Regions from separate parts of the Homo sapiens genome. Here all the other regions are linked to region 1. Evidence: promoter capture Hi-C in 16 types of primary human blood cells and fetal thymus (Javierre and others, 2016). All regions are on one chromosome and are shown on one strand. The core of a region is centred on a gene start or on the middle of the fragment in contact, and the rest is flanking DNA. Distances in the headings are between cores, read along the strand shown.

Region 1 (3,164 bases), core at 482-2,981:
GACTGAATTGTAATACAGTCCATACTGGCATAGAAACACACGTCACAGGTTTCATTTTTTATTTTAATTTCTGTGGGTATACAGTAGATGTATAATTTATGGGGTACATGAAATATTTTGATACAGGCATGCAATTCGTAATAATCAAATCAAAGTAAATGAGGTAGCCATTATCTCAAATATTTATCCTTTTTGTTATAAACAATCCAATTATACTTCGTTATGTTTAAATGCACAATTAAATTATGGACCGCCACCCTGTTGTGCTAGCAAATACTAGATCTTATTCATTCTTTGTTTTTCTACCTATTAACCATCTCCACTTCCTTCCCATCCATCCCCAATACACTTCCCACCCTGTGCTAACCATTCTTTTACTCTAAGCGCGTACTTTTAAAGCCAAATTAAACAGAAAGAAATGGAGAAAACTGCTGTTCAGGCACCAAAGCAGACCCCAAAGGATAAGCCATGGCTTTTCAACCGTAGCGAAAACCTGAATCATAAGGGTACCCCTCTCAAGACGCAGCTCTATCCATTTCCAGAAATTCTCTCAACAGGTCCGGATGCACTCCTGGTCACCCAGAGCAGCTCCTGACAGGAGTACTAATTCTGTGCTGCAGGGTAAGCCGAACAAAGTGCCTAGAAATGCCCCGGAGAAACAGCCCCGTGGCAGCGCGGATGCAATCCTACCTCTCACGCCGCACCTGAAGGCCCGCCAGGCAGACAGGCTTACTCCCAGAGCCCCGTGGCAGGCGAGCGTCGCGTCGGCCGCTCCTTCCAGACCCCGGCTCCTCTGTCCGGAAGGGCTCTCCTGGCAAAGCACCCGCAGCCGGGAGCCGCTCTTCGAACCCGGAGCCCGAGGTCCCGACGGCTGACCTGGACTCACAGCCTGCGCTGATCCTGGCCTGCGCTCTGCCCGGCAGCCTCCTCCACCCGCCTCCTCCGCCCGCCGACCGATTCAAATCCCCGACCCCGCCCCTCGGTACCGAATTTACTCTACGAATCACTCCGCCACCTCCCCCTTCTCCAGTCCGCGCACACTCCGAGCGCTCCCAGGCCTCTCCCTCGGCACTGGAGTGGCTTCCTGGGCTCGGAGAGGGACCACCGCGAGCTGCAGTCAACCCGAGGACTACAGACACCTGCCACTGCCTTGTGACCTCGGGGACTACTTTTCAGGAGAGTCTCGCGGAGTAACGCTTCTCTTAGCGCTTTAACTCCGCCTCCCACCTTTCTATTGGATGCTGCAAACTTCGAAAAGACTCATTCAACCAATCCTAACAGAGCGACGAGCTGGCTCTTACCCAATCAGTCCGTCCCTACCGCAGCCGTTTCCTAGCTGGGCCGGCTTGTGGGCGGGGCTAACGCTGGAGGAGGGGCTGACTGGTGCTTGGGTCCCTTTCAGCGCTCCACCTCCTTTCCCCAGACCCCGCCCTCGTATGCAGATAAGCGCTACCTAAACTAGAGGGTGCGCCTGCTCAGTAACGCTGGAAGCCGCCGTCCGGCTCCAGGAGCCTCTCTGATTGGCTGATGCCCCTTCCCGTCTACTAGCCTTCAGCGTCTCTTCCCTCCCTCCGTCCCGGCTAGGTTAGCCAGAGCCCGCCCGATACTGGGTGCTGATTGGCTGGACTCTGTCCGGTGACGCGGGTTGGTTGGTACGGCAGAGTGTCAGTCTCGGAGAGGTGGGGGAAGGGCCCCAGGCAGGCTGAGGAGCCTAGGGGCGGGGTGGGAAGGAGGACCGGCCGAACCTTGGGTGTGGGACAGAGTGCGTGCGTGTGGTGTGTCCCCAAGGGCAGGAAGGTGGCGAAGGGAGGCGAATCCGAGTGGGTGGAGGGAGGGGAAGGGCGGGAGGAGAAAAAGGTGGGAGGAGGACCAGGTGGGAGGGTGGCGGCTCACTCAGGACCCAGCGGGGGCAGCGCGATGAGGCGGGTGACCCTGTTCCTGAACGGCAGCCCCAAGAACGGAAAGGTAACGGGGGCGTGAGGGGGCGCGGCGGGCCGGGGGTCGGGGCGAGGGCGGACGGTGCGGAACCGGCTGGCGGGGCAGCGGTGAAGTTGGGTAGAGGGGCTGGGAGGTGGGCGTGCGCGGGCTGGGGGCGCTCGGGGACAGCACAGGGTCCCCGCGGCCTCCTCCCGACCCTCAGGACCCCCGTGCCCGAGCCTGCCCTTCAGTGCCTCAGCTGCCTGGGGGCCGGCGCGGTTCGGCCCGGGGGCTCCGGGTCTCCCGGATGCTTGGTGCGGGGGGCGCGGGGACGGGGGCGCGGGGAGGGCCGCGGTCACCTGGGCGCCCGGGCGGTCGCGCCTCTTCCCGCCTCTCCCCGAGACCCCGCTCCCGCCTGCGGGAGGAGGCGCGCCGGCTCCGGTGCTGAGTAATGATCTGCTCGGAAAGTGGCGGCGAGCACCAGAGCCTGTGGAGATGGGTCAGGGAGACAGAAGTAAACTGCCCGTGGATAAACAAAATCTCCCATCCGAGGTCGCAGACAGGATTTTTAAAATGGGGGCATTTTCTTGTTGATTTTTGCCCTCCTCTCTGAGATGCCTCAAGCCCCCACGCCCCGCCGCCGCCAAACTTCTCTGTACTCTTTTTATTATTTTGCCTTATTTTGATTCCCTAGAGGACGGGTACAGCAGACCCAAAAGGGATCGATTTGACAGTCGCCTTTGCTGTGTTAGGCCTTTGCGGAGAGTGTGGTGCTCAGTGTTCTTCCAGCGCTGGAGCAAGCCAAAACGAATTCTCTTCCTTCCCAGCCTTTTGCCCCACCCATGAAAGTTGTTCTGCTCCTTTGGGAAATTTTCACTGTTCGAGGCAGACATTTATTGCGTTGCTAAATGATACCTAGAAGTAACTCAGCCTTTACGAGTCTAAGGTAAAGGTAAATGGGTCTCGCTGTGTTGGTTGCCAAAATACTCTGCTGCCTGCACATTCGGGGAACACTGTAAATTTTTAAATAGTGAAATTGTCCAGTGGCATTAAAAATGGCTTTCCGATTATTCAGTGTAGAGTAAACATGCTCCGAAAATTCGAACCAGAGTGTGGTTTGTTGGCTATAATTTTATGTTCTTTTGGTCTTAGAGATTTAATACTCATTTAAAATCAGAATTCGTATAAATTCGAGTTCTTGAGTTATCATGAATGCTACCCCGAAAATATGTTCACGAAGTTTACAT
Region 2 (3,164 bases), core at 247-2,746, 1.1 Mb before region 1:
AAGGGGAGAGGTGGGGAATGGGGAGCAGCTGATAATTGGTAGGGTTTCTTTTTGGGGTGGTAAGAATGTTCTGATATTAGATGGTAGTGATGCTTCCACAATTCTGTGAATATACTAAAAAGCACTGAGTTATACACTTTCAGAGAGTGAATCTGAGGGTATACAAATCATATCTAAATTTTTTTAAGATTTTTTATTTTTATTTATTTATTTTTTTGAGACAGGGTCTTGCTCTATTACCCATGCTGGAGTGCAGTAGTAGAATCAAAAATTTTTAGAGTCAGTATACTCATGTAAGCTAACATAAATGAGAAAGAGAGAGAGCGAGAGAAAGAAAGGAAAGGAGGAAGTGGGAAGGGGAAAAGAGGGGAGAGGAGTGGAGGGAGGGGAGGGGAGGGGAGGGAGATACTCTTACTCAGAAATTTTCTTTCTTTGAAAATCCCTTATGACATTTCTAAGAAGAAGCAAGAATAGTGTGACCTTTGCAAATTACCTTAAAGACAAAGAGGAGAAGAAAGAGCCAAGCTAATACATGAAGAGGGAAAACAACCAGAAAAAATGACATTTCAGACACAATCATGGACAGAAATCCTACAAGTCAGTAGGGGCCACCTTTACCTGCCAGGGGGACCACAAAAATAGGGGATTTCTGTCAAGAAGGCAGGAATGTTCAGCAGAACACAGCTTCTGAATCATCTGACTCTCTCAGAACCAAGACAAAACAGTTCAAATGCCTACAAGCCACAGGACCCAGGAAATACCGCAGAGTGGACACTTTCCCCCTCTACATAAAAGAACCTATTTCTTTTCTATGCATCAGCTTCTCCAGTCCATCTTTCATTAAAAGGACTTGCCATGGAATGAAAACTCATATTTCAGGACTAAGATGGACAACAGGCCTTCTCCAGCTCTTCTCTGAAAAGTGAGCTTTTCGGTAGAGAACGAGCTTCCTTCACAAGAAGGGCACTCCCGCTGGGTGTGAGCCAAACGCACATGCACGACACTTGCGCAGCTAAGAATACGCACAGTGGGGAAAAGGCACAGAAGCAGCCCCCGTCCTGCCCGAGTGCCACATCCCTTTCTGGGCTTTCATTCCCCCACCCCCACCGCCTGCAAAATGAAAGAAAGATTGCAATAAACAAGGTGTAAGTCTCAAACCTGCTCTTCACCTGGAGCTTGTAATCAGGTGTCAGGCTCCCATCCACCCACAAGGAACAGAGAGATTTTGGTGTTGAAGCTTCAACCTGCCCTGCGAGCCAATCTTTATTTCAAAGTACTTTGTGCTGTAAGCTAACGGGAAAAAATGATCAAATGCCTCAAATCTCCCGTAAGCAGGGACTGTGCCTGGGGGGAAAGGTGCTCACCAAGGTGGGGGCACATCGGGTGTCTCCTGGTGCTTTCTGCTGGCACTAACATTCTAAAACATGAAGCATTAAGTACAGCAACATGGATCTTCCTTTTTTAACATGGAAAATACGTTTTCATAGAGCAGGAGGGAAAAGAACTCTCTAAAAAACAGAGCTGAATAGGCTTAGCAAGAAAAGAAATTCAGGAGATGGAGAGGAGGAGCTCTAAAACATCCACAAAAAAATAAACCATTTCATAGCAATGCTGACCATTTTAATTGATTCTCGACGACAGAAGAACACAAGAAAAGGTAGATGATGTAATGCGATGGCTGCTGAAGGCAAAAGTCACAAAACAAATTTAGCCCTTCGAATACCACAGTAGCCACGGGTCAATATAAAAAGCTTCAACGGTCAGGAGCAAAACTGGGGTGAAGGGGCTACTCCCCCATACATGTAATTTGTCCAAGCCCTGCCATAGCCACCACCTCCCTGGATCCTCAAAGCAACCCTATTATGCAAGACATGCTGATCCAGGTGCATCTGACGATTCAGAAAACCAGGACCAAGCCGTGGGGCACCGAGCCTGAGCTAATAAGCAGCAGAGTCGACCCTGGCACGAAGGTCTCCCAGCTCCATGAAGATGCATCATCAAGAAGGTTGGGCCTCAAATTCTTTCCATTACACTTCATGTTTCTCCCTGGATTATCTCCATAAAGGAGAAAAACAATACCCAGAACACAATTCCAACTCTGAGAAATTGTCTGATCTTCCTCCTTGTCTCTGCCCCTCAAAAAAAAAAAAAAAAAAAAGAGGCCAGGTGCGGTGGCTCTTGCCTGTAATCCCAGCACTTTGGGAGGCCGAGGCGGGTGGATCACAAGGTCAGGAGATCGAGACCATCCTGGCTAAAACAGTGAAACCCCATCTCTACTAAAAATACAAAATATTAGTTGGGCGTGGTGGCGGGCGCCTGTAGTCCCAGCTACTTGGGAGGCTGAGGCAGGAGAATGGCGTGAACCTGGGAGGCGGAGCTTGCAGTGAGCTGAGATCAAGCCACTGCATTCCAGCCTAGGCAACGGAGGGAGACTCTGTATCCAAAAAAAAAGAAAAGAAAAGAAAAATGCCATCTGCCCGTGGTGTTTCCCAAGCAGACATGGGAGGTGCTGAGCCTAATGAACCTCATAAAAGCCCACGCCAAAGCGATTCAGAGAAATGCAAAAGATGAGTGCCAGGCAAGGGCAAGGCAACCTCGGAGCAGCCTACGTGACAGAAATCAGCTCAATCTGGCCCCGCATGGAAGAAGGCTCCCGGGCCTCCCAGAAGAAGGATTAAGTTCAGTTGATGAATGCATGGCATCAGTTACTCCTCTTGATTGCTCTCCAAATCCCCCTCTGGGATGCAAGGGGAGATCTAGGGCATCAACCCAGGGCTTCTGTAGGAGAGAAGAGACACCCAATATACCACCGTCTTGGTGAGCATCTTCCATGCTGGGTGCAGCCTCCCACTTAGTAGGAGACGTATGATATCTGATCATTTTCTGCCTATATATTACAGAAAAAGTACTTTTAAATAACAGGTGGATGGAAGGGCAGGATAAAACTTGAACACCAAAATCTTTCTGTTCTTCCAGGATGGATAGGAGCCCTGTACCTGAGGGCAAACTCAAGGTGGGTGCTGTGTCTGGGATTGTTGTAAAGCACCTGTCACAAGGCTGGGCACAAAGCAGCTTTCATGAGCAGGCTGTCTAACTGCTACAAAACAAACGTTCCTCTCGCATTCTAGGATATGCAAGGGCCATTGGCCCAGAGCTTGGATTGG
Region 3 (3,164 bases), core at 257-2,756, 1.1 Mb before region 1:
ATACTAGAAAGCAAAAGTTAAATAAGGCACCAGAGGCCCCACTCAAAGACGTTTTGTTCCCAAGAAACCCCCTAAGATCAAATGATAACAAGGCCCCAAGATATTTCTAAGAACTGTCATTAAACTTTCTTTACAGCACTTGCAATTGAGCTAATTATCCTATAGCAATTTTCTCCAGACCTGGCCGTACTTTCCAAACATTTATTTTTATCATATCCTTTTCACCAGAAGGAAAATAGGGGTGGAAGGGTGAGGTAGAACAAATCAAAGCAAAAAAAAAAAAAAAGTGAACACTATGATTGCAATGATTTAAAATTTTGGAAGCGTGTGTTTAGTTATTCAGATAATGAAAAAGCTAACAGCTGAAATATAATTTTAAAAGGCAGAAAAATGAATATTCATTATGTTGGGAGACATGATTCATTTCCAACTTTTAAAAAATATTTTTATATCTTTCTACCAATTTTTTAAAAGGAATATTAATCTAGGAGAAGTTGATAAAGTTCTAGAACAAATCAGTGATGAGTAAAAACAGCACACAGGCCTGCACACTTCTGGGCCAGTGTCATTCTACCAGACCAGATCGTGCCATCTTATAATTGGGGGAAAATGGAACATCAAAGTCATGGCATTTGAGAGCCTGGAGCTGAGACTGTCACAGCAAACACACATGGAGAAAACATTAAACGTGGAAATGTTAAAATCTATTTTAGGTTCATAAATCTGGGTGTGAGCTCCCAGGCAACAGTCACAGCCACTCCAGTTTTCCACTCCTCTGGACCGGTTTACAGCTATCCCTTGATGAATGCTGCTTATTTAAAAGCTGTCACTGGCTGCAGTGTTTGTCTTCAAACAGATGTGCTATTTCTCCAGAGCCCCGGGAGCTACCCCAGTAGAAAGGGCAGGCAGATACTGGGATGAACTCAGCTTCCTTAACCCTCTGGCGTCCAAAAATACCCAAACTCAGGAACTGCCCTGTTGCTTCTCCTTTGTAACATTAACACAATAAACACAAGGGCAGTCTTATTTGCACTAGTTGCCACTTAGAATAAAACCTAAAATTCCCTCAGGATTTAGGCAGTAATTTGTCTGTATTACTTAGTAATTAACTTGGTATCTTTCTTTGGCCCCTCCAACTTGGATTCTTGATGAAGAAAGCAGATGTGCTGTCTCAATAGAGGAGACTGTCTTTCACGTTTGCGTCCTTTGGGCAATCCAACCCAAACAATGACATTCTAGGCAAAACTTTAATATATTCAACATATCACAAACCAAGTATTTGAGCTGGCAACAGAAAGATATCATATCACCTCAGTTAAAAATAGTAAATTACATAATACCTAATGCAACGGGTGTACATTAATTGTTGCTTTGAATTCCCTAAATTTGAGTTTTCAAATTCACTAATTACCACCAATCAAAACCAGTTTAAAACAGATACTAAGTTGGTCACTCTCTGATGTTCCTGAAGTTTGATACTTTGGATGCGAATGGTATCTAATACTTGGGAAGTCTGGAAAGTGTTCAAATACATCTGTATATCATGAGTTACACTTACTTGATCAACCCATCTTCCATGTATATGTCTGCATAGAACGACTGGTCATCATTAACAATTTTACCTCCTTTGATCAGAAGACGATCGCTCTGAAACAAAGAGGCAGTAAGGTCACAACGCGTAACTGACCTATGAGAAACAGGTGCTAAGATATGTGAGCTAAGGATACATTTTCACTGTTCAAAAGTGATGTTCAAAATAAGCCCATTTTGGAAAGGTTCAGTGACAAAGGTAAGCCTGTATGTGGCAACCTATTCATCACCTGATGAGTCAGAACACACAGGGACAGCTTATCCTAGATAAACGAACCATCTCTTTCAATTAGACCTTGGACTCCAAAGAAAAAAAAAAAGCAGTGAAAATTATTTCATATAAAGAAGATAGGGCCGGGCACGGTGGCTCATGCCTGTAATCCCAGCACTTTGGGAGGCCAAGATGGGCGGATCACCTGAGGTCAGGAGTTTGAGACCAGCCTGGCCAACATGGTGAAACCCCATCTCTATAAAAAATACAAAAAATGGGCTGGGCATGGTGGTGGGCGCCTGTAATCCCAGCTACTCGGGAGGCTGAGGCAGGAGAATTGCTTGAAGCAGCAGGCGGAGGTTGTAGTGAACCGAGATCACGTCACTGCACCCCAGCCTGGGTTACACAGCAAGACTCCAACTCAAAAAAAAAAAAAGAAGATAGTACTTTTTAAAATGGCTTTTGGCTAAACCTCAATTTAAAAACAAACAAACAACAACAAAAAAAACCACCTACATATAGGAAAGCCATGTCTTGGAAAGACTGTGTCAAGCAAGCACAATTGACCAAAAAGTCTGCTGTCACGGGATATACCACACAAATACACTGGGTTCAACCATAGCAAGGTTTCCATTCAATATGTCCTTTATATTTGCATTTATCTTTGAGGTAAATCACAGCAAGTATAGCAAAAAGACTACAAAAAATACGCCATTGATGCCATTTTAACTAGGCTGTTAAGAAAAAGGTAAACTCCCACGAATAAGTATCTGAGATAGCAAATTCTAAGATGCAATGCACTACAGATTGCTGATGCACTTATATTTTAACCGGTGATATTTATGCTAAAAAATAAAGGACAAGCAGCAGATAAAGTCTGAGAATGTGACAGAAATGCTACATTATGACTCATCGTTATTGCAAATGCTGCTGATGGAAGGAATGCTGGCATCGAGTGTTCAGTAAATATGCACCTGTATTATACAGAATGGGCTTAAACCTGGCAAGCTGAACCATACATTGCCCTTTTAATATGCAACACATTTCAAAGAATGACATTCTTTTGGCAATAGTTAACTCAAAATTCAGTTACAAAACAATATTCTCAGCAAGTGCTACCTCTCTTTAGCAGCTACCAAGAAAAGGAAATCATAGAAAATCTTTAAAAAAGAGATAAGCTACTAGAGAGCAAGGAAAAAAGATAATTTTACACATAAATACACACACCTTGGTTCAGAAAGTATTTATTGTCTCTCTAACATACTGAAAACCAATAAGATCATTTTAATTTTGTACACTGCAGGGTCCCTGATCCTCACGTAGACTTTGGAAAGTCAAAGGAGAATAGCCAACAATAATTCCT
Region 4 (3,164 bases), core at 428-2,927, 1.1 Mb before region 1:
TATGTGATATACAAATAAACTCCTTTTGTGCTCGAGTCATTATACATAGTGGAGTCTATTTATCATAGCAGCAGTATTCTTTCTACCACAACTCCTAACTTAATCCTGTTTGAATTTAAAATTTGTGTGAAATACACACATACCCTCAGTTCCTTCACTTTGCTGACCCATGACCTTGGCCTGCCCTTATCTTTAGCCATTCACTCCAAGGGCTATCTGAGCCCTCATCCCCTAACCACATCATCAAGATGTGATGAGTCAACCTCTTCATTCACAGCTGGGCCCCCATGGTCCATTTCCTGGACTACTCTCACCAGCAGCATCATTCTGCTACTCTTACCCTGCAACCTCCCAATCCTGGGGCAGCCCTAAAATTCACTATTCCCTAACCACTTCTGTGGGAGCAGCCACAGAACACTCATACTGCATTAAAGATTGGGACAAAAAGAAGTCATGATATCAAAAAGACACCTGCACTCCTATGTTTATTGCAGCACAAGTCACAGTTGCACAAATATGGAACCAGCCTAAGTGCCCACTGACCAATGAGTGGATGAAGAAAATGTGGTACATATACACCTTGGAATACTACTCAGCCATAAAACAGAATGATAAAGAATGATATAATATCTTTTGCAGTAATTCGGGTGGAGCTGGAAGCCATTATTCTAAGTGAAGTAACACAAGAGTGGAAAACTAAACACTGTATGTTCTCACTTATAAGAGGGAGCTAAGCTATGAATACACAAAGGCATACAGAGTGATATAATGGACTTTGGAGACTCAGAAGAAGGAGGGTGGGAATGGGGCTAGGCATAAAAAAAAACTACACATTAGGTACAATGTACACTCCTTGGGTGATGGGTGCACTAAAATCTCAGACTTCACCACTATACAATTCATCTATGTAACCAAAAACCACTTGTATCCCAAAAGCTATTGAAATTTTTTAAAAAAAAAATTCTTTTAAAAAGAAACTGGGACAGATCACTCCAGAAGAGCTTCCCCTGAAGACTTCCCACTGGTCCTTGATCTGGCCACCCTCTCACACCTCTCAGCAGCTGTCACCACCTTTGCCATGCTTCCTGGGTCATCCTCAATCGTGTTCTCATGAGCTCAGTCTGGCTGGAGAGCCCAGTGCTGAATGAGGAATCACAAATGGAATAAGGATTTGTAGCAGAGCATCACACACACCCCTCTTTTCTCCTTCCCTAGGTCTCACAGGAAGACGTCAGCCCATTCAAGGATTATTCCCAAATCCATGCTGTTTCCCACCCCGGCCTGCTCCCAAATCTCAAAGTCTTCCTCTCCACCTCTCAGTCCCTTGAGCTTGGAAAACTCCTCCAGCCGTTCCCATCTCCCTGGCCCTGTGCTCCTCACCACGATTGCCCTGCCTTGCTGTTCCTACATGGTTAAGCTTCAGGAATGGGTAGCGTACACTCCTGGCCTCCACTTCCTCAACTTCCACTCCCATTTGCTTCTCAACCCACTACAGTTGGCCTCTTCGCCTGACTCCATTAGAAAAGCTTGGGCAAACAGCATGCTAATTGGAAGCTAATGCGCACTTTGTGATCTTTATTTTAACTGAGCTCATTGTGATACTTAACATTATTGCCTCTACCTTTTTTCTTCCAAATTCCCCTCCCTCGCTTCTGTGATGCCTTTTTTTCTGGCTCTTTTCACGCTTTTATGACTCTTCTTTCTAAACATTCATTGAGTTCCTCTTACCCAGTCTTAAATATCAATGATCCCTTAGGTTGTCTCCTAAGCCTCTTTCTCTGTCATGGTTTCAACAACTAACTAAACGTTTCTAACTTCCAAAGCTTTATTCCTGACTCTTTCCACACTTCATTCATTCATTCATTCATTCATTCACTCATCCAGCAAGGTTACATTAAGTGCCTTCTATGTGCCAAGGGATATGATAGTAAAAAAACCTACAACACCTCTGCCCTCATGGAAGTTACCTTCTACAAGGGGGTAGCCATTTAATTAATGGGGAAAGAAACAAATACAAAGGATAACTTCAGATTGCAGTCAGTGCCATCAAGGAAATAAGCAGAGGATAGAGAGGTGGAAAGGCACTTTAGACAGAGTGGTCTAGGAAGGTCTAGGAAGGGGAGCTGACATTTAGGTAGAGATTTAGTCCCAAGAGCAAAAATCTGACTTTGCCTCTGGAGGGAAAATTCTGGACTTAGCCTCAGGCAGCAGAGTTCTAGACTTAGCCTCTGGAGGAAGTAGCAGAACGTGGTGTCTGGGAGCTAAGTTCAGGACTTCATGTCTGGAAAAAGATATTGGGGCTTCAATTCAATTTTTGCAGCAAAGTTTCTGACTCAATGTGTTAATTAAAAGGGAAGACTTAGTCTTTGGACAAAGATGAGAAGGAGGAAGCCATCTGGGAGAAGAGAGTTTATGTAAGAGAAAACAAAAACATGGGAAGACTGAGATTAGGATGAGGTGGAATGTTTTGGGAACAGAAAGGAGTCTAGTGTGACTGGAGAACTGTGAGCAAGAGAGAGTGATAGACATGAGCGTGGCCCTTTAAAAACAGTGCCACAAATTCTTTGGCATCCTCCTAATGAAAGGTGGGGTCTACATGCCCTCCCTTTGAATTCGGGTGGGCTTCTGGCTGCTTTAACAAGTAGAGTATGACAGAAGAGATGCCTTCCAAGGACAGGTCACAGAAAGCATGGTCTGAGTTCAGACACAGGTGTGGGAAATCCAGCTACCCTAACGCCACCATGCTGTAAAGAAGCTGAAGCCATGTAGAGACCAATATAGGAATTCCAGCAGAGTCCCCCCAAGCCCAGCCTTCCTGCCATGGTGCCAAGGTGACAGACGTATGAGTGAGAAAGATTCTGGAGGACTCCACCCCGGTTGTTCAAGTCACCCAAAGCCATTCAAGTTTTCCCAGATACGGCCCTAGACATCGTGGAGCAGAGACAACATATCCCTGCTCTACTGTGTTCAAATCCCTGATCCACAGGATCCATGAGCACAGTAAGAGTGTTGTTGGTCTTTGCCACTATATTTTGGGGCTATTTGTTACACAGTAACATCTGCTTTGTACAACCGAAGTTAAAGCAGCAGGCAGGGACCACATCTACAGGACTGTGGGCCATGGAAACAGATTCGGATTTTATTCTGTCTTTAAAACGAAACCA

The links. Contacts are between HindIII fragments. The CHiCAGO score rates a contact against its expected background, and 5 or more counts as called.
Region 2: a contact is called between a fragment that was not itself captured here and the fragment with the promoter of KCTD9 in region 1, in 1 of 17 cell types (fetal thymus). The highest score is 5.2, in fetal thymus.
Region 3: a contact is called between a fragment that was not itself captured here and the fragment with the promoter of KCTD9 in region 1, in 10 of 17 cell types (naive CD8 T cells, non-activated CD4 T cells, activated CD4 T cells and 7 more). The highest score is 22.8, in naive CD8 T cells.
Region 4: a fragment that was not itself captured here is called in contact with the fragment with the promoter of KCTD9 in region 1 in 6 of 17 cell types (naive CD8 T cells, naive B cells, naive CD4 T cells and 3 more); the score reaches 10.4 in naive CD8 T cells.

What each region holds. Positions count from the first base shown.
Region 1 is chr8:25,457,000-25,460,163 of GRCh38, reverse strand. KCTD9 (potassium channel tetramerization domain containing 9) reads left to right here and starts at 1,731. Exons shown (of 12, transcript NM_017634.4): 1 at 1,731-1,965. The coding sequence starts at 1,918. CDCA2 (cell division cycle associated 2) reads right to left here and starts at 931. Exons shown (of 15, transcript NM_152562.4): 1 at 691-931. RefSeq lists enhancers at 1,033-1,262, 2,633-2,682 and silencers at 1,403-1,612, 1,973-2,022. The HindIII fragment of the contact is 4,823 bases long and covers 1-3,164 here.
Region 2 is chr8:26,596,770-26,599,933 of GRCh38, reverse strand. All of the region lies in intron 3 of DPYSL2 (dihydropyrimidinase like 2), which reads right to left. Among named protein-coding and RNA genes, the nearest start is that of DPYSL2, 84 kb to the right of the region's middle. The HindIII fragment of the contact is 514 bases long and covers 1,240-1,753 here.
Region 3 is chr8:26,580,452-26,583,615 of GRCh38, reverse strand. DPYSL2 (dihydropyrimidinase like 2) reads right to left here. Exons shown (of 14, transcript NM_001197293.3): 2 at 1,559-1,647. Among named protein-coding and RNA genes, the nearest start is that of DPYSL2, 68 kb to the right of the region's middle. The HindIII fragment of the contact is 3,760 bases long and covers 1-3,164 here.
Region 4 is chr8:26,562,561-26,565,724 of GRCh38, reverse strand. The region is part of intron 1 of DPYSL2 (dihydropyrimidinase like 2); the gene reads right to left. Among named protein-coding and RNA genes, the nearest start is that of DPYSL2, 50 kb to the right of the region's middle. The HindIII fragment of the contact is 297 bases long and covers 1,529-1,825 here.